Linked DNA regions of Homo sapiens: region 2 is linked to region 1. Evidence: promoter capture Hi-C in human tissues and cell types (Jung and others, 2019). All regions are on one chromosome and are shown on one strand. The core of a region is centred on a gene start or on the middle of the fragment in contact, and the rest is flanking DNA. Distances in the headings are between cores, read along the strand shown.

What was found. The method cuts DNA at HindIII sites, captures the fragments that hold promoters and counts their contacts. A contact is called where the count stands out against the background at its distance.
Region 2: a fragment that was not itself captured here is called in contact with the fragment with the promoter of ZNF468 in region 1 in 2 of the 25 tissues and cell types used here (adrenal gland and aorta).

What each region holds. Positions count from the first base shown.
Region 1 is chr19:52,855,162-52,859,270 of GRCh38, forward strand. ZNF468 (zinc finger protein 468) reads right to left here and starts at 2,458. Exons shown (of 4, transcript NM_001008801.2): 1 at 2,411-2,458. RefSeq lists an enhancer at 2,057-2,136. The HindIII fragment of the contact is 14,237 bases long and covers 1-4,109 here.
Region 2 is chr19:53,407,411-53,411,644 of GRCh38, forward strand. The region is part of intron 3 of ZNF765-ZNF761 (ZNF765-ZNF761 readthrough); the gene reads left to right. It overlaps ZNF765 (zinc finger protein 765), which reads left to right. Exons shown (of 4, transcript NM_001040185.3): 4 at 288-4,234. The coding sequence ends at 1,717. It also overlaps the pseudogene LOC124904793. Among named protein-coding and RNA genes, the nearest start is that of ZNF765-ZNF761, 14 kb to the left of the region's middle. The HindIII fragment of the contact is 3,821 bases long and covers 1,075-4,234 here.

The DNA of each region.
Region 1 (4,109 bases), core at 1,208-3,707:
GAGTGAGAGTCTGTTTGAAAAAAAAAAAAAAAGTGCATTTCTGATGGGATTGACACAGAGATAAGAAGACTTGAGTAATGCCATAGACACTGATGGGTAGAGGGAACTTCAGATGGGGGTGGGAGGGCATGGGAGACAGCTCTGAGCCTAGACCTGAAGGAGAAAGGGACAGTGCCATCTTCATTTAGAAACATTGAATAAGAGCAGGGACAACAACCTGAGACAGGAAGGATTTTGATGTTTGAAAAAAGAGAAAAGCAAATGTGACTGGGGCAGAGGGAGTCAGATGAGGGTAAGCTCCCAGGAGGAGGCTGGACACTGGCAGGGACCCTGAACACAGGGCTGTGGAGCCAAAGTGAAGAGTCGGGCTTTTGTCCTGGGGAACACGGGAAGCAGGTGGAGGGTTCCCTGCCAGGCACTGACATGACCTGCTTTAGATGTAGCTGTGATATTCTAATACAGACAAAGGCCTCCAAAGATCCTCTCTGTTTCTGAGTCTACCGCTCTGTTTCTTCCATTCTTCTGCTTTTTTTTTTTTCATTTTTGGGGTACTGCATCCCACTGAAAATTCTAATTACAACTGGGCACTCTCCTCTACCAGAAAAAAAGCCACACCCAGACACCGCCTCTATTTTGCCAATCATTTCAGGGGTCAGGATCACTCAGGTTGAGCTTTTCTGGTCTAGCCCTTCGTCGCAAAGATGCAGGGAGGTTCACTGGGGCTCAGAGCTGGAAACATTTTCACGAAGTTACCCTGAGAAGGTCTGAGATGAGTGAGAAGGTGTGCCTGAATTCTTACATGGGGGCCTGGAAGGGCTAATGGGATGGGTTGGTCTTATCATCCCATTCTTAAAATTAGAGAAGCATTTTTCACATGCCTGGGTTAAAGAAAATTCTTTTGAAAGGTTCTGATGAAATTGACTCCCAACATTGAATTCTTCCTTACAAGAAAATCACACTAACATTTATAAAATGCAGCAGTGTAAACACACAGCTCTTGACCTTGAAAACAGGGAAACAGGGTCAGCTGTAGAACCAAGACATAAGCAAATTATTTCAATCAAGAAATACATGGGTGGACAGCTGAGGTGGTTCACACCTGTAATTCCAGCACTTTGGGAGGTGGAGGTGGGTGGATTACCTGAGGTCAGGAGTTTGAGACCAACCTGGCCAACATGGTGAAACCCTATCTCTACTAGAAATACAAAAATTAGCTGGGCTCCATCCTTGCAACTTATTTAACCTCCTGTTGGTCCTTCTCCCCAATCTTTAGATCGTCCTCAATCTCCATAGATTTCTGCCTCTTCTCCCATCTATGCGCCTCCTCTGCTCTCCCTGTTAAATTCTCTCTTCTCTGTTATAACCCCCTGGACCCAATCTGGCACCCCAGATCCCCAGGTGTCCTCCCCGCTGTGCTTCTCCCTCTGTTCTCCTTGCCACCAGCACCACTCTGCTCTGTCTGACCCGGCTCCACATCCCTCCTCCTCTCCCTCACTCTGATGAGCCTCCACATTTCTGCCCCTCTCCCTACCTTGCTGTCCTTCATCTCTCTGTACATCTAGCTTTTCTCTACATTTCTCCAGTTGCTTTTCTCCTCCTGCTTTCTTATCTTTTATCACTTTTGCTGTCTCTTGGCAAATCCCTCACCCATCCTCTACTTTGCCATCTGTTATGGGTCTTTCTCATTCTTCTTTTCTCTGTCTCAGGTTTTCTACTGCTCTCTCAGTCCCTCTCTCTGTCTCCTGATCCCTTTGGCCCACACGATCACAAGAGGGTTTGGAGTAAGACGCCTGCATCTCGGAGAAGCGCATTTTCCAAGTGCTGGAGCTGGGCGGGCAAGAACACCCCGCGTCACAGGACAAGCCCCAGGCACCTCTCCAACGAGGGCTCAGGGGACGCGGTGACTGCGGAGGGGAGATCTGGGGAGCAGCAGGGCCCAGCAAGAGGAGGAGGGAGGTGGGGAGCGACGACGCCTTCGGACAAGGGTGGGATCCGCAGGATCCCAGGACCACAGAACGCAGCCTTCCCGGGACTGGGGTCGCCGCGCTGTGCTCCAGGAACCCAGGAGAGTAAGGCTGGGAGGCGCACAGGGTGGGAATACACCTCTAGGGTGAGGACTTTAAAAAGAGCCGTGCGGAAGGAGTCAAAAAACGGTTTTGAGCAGGAAAACTACGCGATAGGAAACGTATACATTGCCCTATGGCAGAAAGACCCGGGACGGGACCAGCCTCAGGGCGACTTTAAACCTAAAAAGAAGGGGCTTCCGGACTCCCAGTAGAACATCTCCATTTGCTCTGAGTGAAGGAAGAAAGGCGAGAACTTCCAGGTCTATGGGGACCCCACATCCCATGTACAGAAGTGCCGGGGACCTGGGAAGCTCAGACTTAACACCACACAGAGCAAAACTCACCGCCCGCCGCGGCGTGACCGTCATTCCACGGGATCCACTTCCTGGTCTGCGCGAATCTGCGCGCGCAGGACAGAAACCAGGCCTGGGTGGAGCCAACGAGGAGGCGAGCGGGGCCCGGGTGAGGTGTGGGCGGGGCGCGAAGCGGCGAGACCTTGCCCTTTAGAACCCGCAGAGGGCGGGGCCGGAGCGGGACCTGTGCATCTCTCAGCCTCCTCCCAACCCGTTCTCCGGGTTTTGGCGGCGAGAGCCCCCAGGAAGGCAGACGGATAATTCAAAAGCCCTGGAATAGTCTGGAAGGAGGATGCAAACTAGAATGTAAAATGCAAAGCCCTTTCTGGGCGGAACGTAGGATTTCATGCTGATGGCCCACAGGACAGTATAGAAATCTTCTCCCTTTCTATTCTCCATTCACTCAGGAGGGAGAGTCCACCCAGTGCTCAGCTTCAGAGACATCCCTAGGGCCACAGCCTGGGATGCCAGACGGAGTGCTCAGGCCAGGGAGGAGTGAGGTCACCACCTGCTGCTTAAACACAGCAGGGATGCGGGCGTGGGAGCCTGAGGTCCCAGCTACTCAGGAAGCAGCGGCGGGAGGATCGCTCAGCCTGGGGGTCCAGGACAGCCTGCGCGACAATGTAACATTCCCTCCCGCAGTCTCTCTCTTTTTTAAATTTTTAAAATAAAATTTTTATTAGGCCGGGCACGGTGACTCACGCCTGTAATCCCAGCACTTTGGGAGGCTGAGGCGGGCGGATCACGAGGTCAGGAGATCGCGACCATCCTGGCTTACACGATGAAACCCCGTCTCCACTAAAAATACAAAAATTAGCCGGGCGTGGTGGCGGGCGCCTGTAGTCCCAGCTACTCAGGAGGCTGAGGCAGGAGAATGCGGTGAACATGGGAGGTGGAGCTTGCAGTGGGCCGAGACCGAGCCACTGCACTCCAGCCTGGGCGACAGAGCCAGACTCCCTCTCTAAAAATAAATAAACAAACTAAATTTGCTTGTGTGAGATAGGAATACAACATTACTCTTCTCCATATGGATATCCAGTTAGTTGTCCCAGCACATTTGTAAAAGAGATCTGTTACTTTCTCCTTTTTATTTACATTTTTTCTTTTTCTTCTTCTTCTTCTTTTTTTTTTTTTTTTTGAGACTGAGTATTTCTCTGTCGCCCAGGCTGGAGTACAATGGTGACATCTCGGCTCACTGCAGCCTCTGCCTCCTGGGTTGAAGCGATTCTTCTGCCTCAGCCTCCGGAGTAGCTGGCATTACAGGCACACCCACCATGCCCGGCTAATTTTTGTATTTTGGGTACAGACGGGGTTTCATCATGTTGGACAGGCTGGTCTCGAACTCCTGACTTCAAGTGATCCGCCTGCCTCGGCCTCCCGAAGTTCTGGGATTACAGGCGTGAGCCACTGTGCCTGGCCCAAGAAATACTCTTTACTTCGCTTTTTAAATGTTGAAAAAATACAATTGAAAACTAAAAAATCTTCCCCAAAATGAGAAATCATCTTCATGACAAAACAGGAAGAAATAAAAACCATTTTATTAGTAAATAAGCCTTAGACCAGAATGTGTTGGGAAATACAGGCAAAGAGCTGAGAGGTTGAAAAGAGAGAAACTTCACTGCTCTATACAACCCATTAAGTACATGTTTTCAAGATAAACACTAATCAGTCCTCAGGGAAGAGGACTTGA
Region 2 (4,234 bases), core at 1,735-4,234, 550 kb after region 1:
CACTTTAGGGTCACGATGGAAAAATATTCCTTACTTTAGGCTACACGTTTTTGTGCCCTGTCAGTGTTTTGTCACGATATTGGAAATAGACTTCCGTAAAAATAATTTGAAGCACATGTAATCGCCCTTTATTTGTTAAAGAATCTTATGCTTTTCTGTTCCTAAACTTTGAGGGTCATGTTTGCAAAGTTTAAAATAAGTATTGTTTTTTGTGTCATATTTACACATTTCAGCATTATTTACCATCTGTACTTAATTTGAAACCTTTTGGTGTGTATACTTTTTAGATATCTCTTCCAAATGCATGATGAAGGAGTTCTCGTCAACAGCACAAGGCAATAGAGAAGTGTTCCATGCAGGGACATCTCAAAGACATGAAAGTCATCACAATGGAGATTTTTGTTTCCAGGATATTGATAAAGATATTCATGACATTGAGTTTCAGTGGCAAGAAGATGAAAGAAATGGCCATGAAGCACTCATGACAAAAATCAAAAAGTTGACAGGTAGTACAGAGCGATATGATCAAAATTATGCTGGAAACAAGCCTGTTAAATATCAGCTTGGATTCAGCTTTCATTCGCATCTGCCTGAACTGCACATATTTCACACTGAAGAGAAAATTGATAATCAAGTTGTGAAGTCTATCCACGATGCTTCCTTGGTTTCAACAGCCCAAAGAATTTCTTGTAGGCCTGAAACCCATATTTCTAATGACTATGGGAATAATTTCCTGAATTCTTCATTATTCACACAAAAACAGGAAGTACATATGAGGGAAAAATCTTTCCAATGCAATGACAGTGGCAAAGCCTATAATTGTAGCTCACTCTTAAGGAAACATCAGTTAATCCATTTAGGAGAGAAACAATATAAATGCGATATATGTGGCAAGGTCTTTAATTCGAAGCGATACGTTGCACGCCATCGTAGATGTCACACTGGTGAGAAACCTTACAAGTGTAATGAGTGTGGCAAGACCTTCAGTCAGACATATTACCTAACATGCCATCGTAGACTTCATACTGGAGAGAAACCTTACAAATGTGAAGAATGTGACAAAGCTTTCCATTTCAAATCAAAGCTTCAAATACATAGGAGAATTCATACTGGAGAGAAACCGTACAAGTGTAATGAGTGTGGCAAGACCTTTAGTCAGAAGTCGTACCTTACATGCCATCGTAGGCTTCATACTGGAGAGAAACCTTACAAGTGTAATGAGTGTGGCAAGACCTTTAGTCGGAAGTCACATTTTACATGCCATCATAGAGTTCATACTGGAGAGAAACCTTACAAGTGTAATGAGTGTAGCAAGACCTTTAGTCACAAGTCATCTCTTACATACCATCGTAGACTTCATACTGAAGAGAAACCTTACAAGTGTAATGAGTGTGGCAAGACCTTCAATCAGCAGTTAACCCTTAACATTTGTAGACTTCATAGTGGAGAGAAACCTTACAAATGTGAAGAATGTGACAAAGCCTACAGTTTCAAATCAAACCTTGAAATACATCAGAAAATTCATACTGAAGAGAATCCTTACAAGTGTAATGAGTGTGGCAAGACCTTCAGCCGGACGTCATCCCTTACATACCATCATAGACTTCATACTGGACAGAAACCTTACAAATGTGAAGATTGTGATGAAGCTTTCAGTTTCAAATCAAACCTTGAAAGACATAGGAGAATTTATACTGGAGAGAAACTACACGTGTAATGAGTGTGGTAAGACCTTCAATCAGGAGTTAACCCTTACATGCCATCGTAGGCTTCATAGTGGAGAGAAACCTTACAAATATGAAGAACTTGACAAAGCTTACAATTTCAAATCAAACCTTGAAATACATCAGAAAATTCGTACTGAAGAGAATCTTACAAGTGTAATGAGTGTGGCAAGACCTTGAGTCATACGTCATCTTTTGTGTACCATCATAAACTTCATAGTGGAGAGACCTTACAAATGTGAAGAATGTGAAGAAGCTTTCTGTTTCAAATCCAACCTTGAAAGACATAGGAGAATTCACACTGGTGAGAAACCTTACAGGTGTAATGAGTGTGGCAAGACCTTCAGCCAGACCTCATCCCTTACATGCCATTGTAGACTTCGTACTGGAGAGAAACCTTACAAATGTGAAGAATTTGAGTTTTCCATTTCAAATCAAACCTTGAAAGACAAAGGAGAATTCATACTGGAGAGAAACCATACAAGTGTAATGAGTGTGGCAAGACCTTTAGTCAGAACTCATACCTTACACGCCATCGTAGACTTCATACTGGAGGATACCTTACAAATGTAATGAGTGTGGCAAGACCTTTAGTCAGAACTCATACCTTACATGCCATCATAGACTTCATACTGGAGAGATACCTTAAAAGTGTAGTGAGTGTGGCAAGACCTTTAGTCTGAAGTCATACCTTACGCACCATCGTAGACTTCATACTGGAGAGGTACCTTACAAGGATAATGAGTGTAGAAAAACCTTTCATGGGCAGTCAGCATTTTACAAATGTAATGATTGTCACCAAGTCTTGAGTAATGCTACAACTATTGCAAATCATTGGAGAATCCATAATGAAGAGAGATCCTACAAGTGTGATAAATGCAGAATAAATGCAGAAAATTTTTCAGACATCCTTCATACCTTTGCAGTTCATGGGTGAAGTCGTATTAGAAACCTTACAAATGTGAAGAATGTGATGAAGCTTTCAGATTCAAATCAAACCTTGATAGTCATAGAATTCATACTAGAGAGAAACCTTAGCAGTGTAATGAACGTGGCAAGGTTTTAAATCAAAAAGCAAAGCTTGCACATCATCATAGAATTCATACTGGAGATAAACGTTACAAATGTGAAGCATGTGACAAAGTTTACAGTCGCAAATCAAGCCTCCAAAGACAGGAGAATTCATACTGGAGAGAAAGCTTACATATGTGAAGAATGTCACCAAGTTTTCAGTCACACTCAAACCTTGAAAGACACAGGAGAATTCCTACTGGAGAGATAGCATAAAAATGTAAGAGTTTGTGACAAGGCTTTCAGGCATAATTCGCACCTGGCACAACATCCTAGAATTCACATTGGAGAGAAAGCTTACAAGTATAATGAATGTGACAGGTCTTTAGTGGGCAGTCAACACTTGTTTACCATCAGGCAATCCATGGTGTAGGGAAACTTTACTTATGTAATGATTGTCACAAAGTCTTCAGTTACACTACAACCATTGCGAATCATTGGAGAATCCATAATGAAGAGAGATCATACTAGTTTAATAAATTTGGCAAATTTTTCAGACATTGTTCATAACTTGCAGTTCATCGGCGAACTCGTACTGGAGAGAAACCTTACAAATGTCATGATTGTGACAAGGTCTCAGTCAAGCTTCATTCTATGCAAAACATAGGAGAATTCATACAGGAGAGAAACCTCACAAGTGTGATGATTGCGGCAAAGCCTTTAATTCACATTCACACCTCACTAGACATCAGAGAATGCATACTGGACAGAAATCTTATAAATGTCATCAGTGTGCCAAAGTCTTCAGTCTGAGCTCACTCCTTGCAGGATATCAGAAAATTCATTTTGGAGATAGTTGTTCCAAATACAATGTGTATAGCAAACCATCAAGCATTAATTGACACTAGAGTCAGTTCAGCATTGACTTGAGTTTGACTTAACATTGAGTTGAAGCCTTAATTGACATTAAAGTGTTTATGTTAAGAGGACTGGGCCAGGCACAGTGGCTCACACCTGTAATCTGAGCGCTTTGGGAGGCCAGCACCGGTAGATCACTTGAGTTCAGGAGTTTGAGGTCAGCCTGGCCAACAGACGTGAGCCATTTTCCCAGCCTGTTTTTTGTTTCTTTAACAAAAACTGATAGGGATTTTTTTTTTTTTTTTTGAGATGGAGTTTCACTCTTGTTGCCCAGGCTGGACTGCAATGGAGCGATCCCAGCTCACTACAACCTCCGCCTCCCAGGTTCAAGCAATTCTCCTGCCTCAGCCTCCAGAGTAGCTAGGATTACAGGCATGAGCCACCACGCCCAGCTAATTTTGTATTTTTAGTAGAGATGGGGTTTCTCCATGTTGGTTAGGCTGGTCTTGAACTCCCAGCCTCAGATGATCCACCCACCTCGGCCTCCCAAAGTGCTGGGATTACAGGCGTGAGCCACTGCGCCCAGCCCCAGTGATAAGGATTTTTATGGGTACCGTGTTGAATCTAAATCACATTGGGTT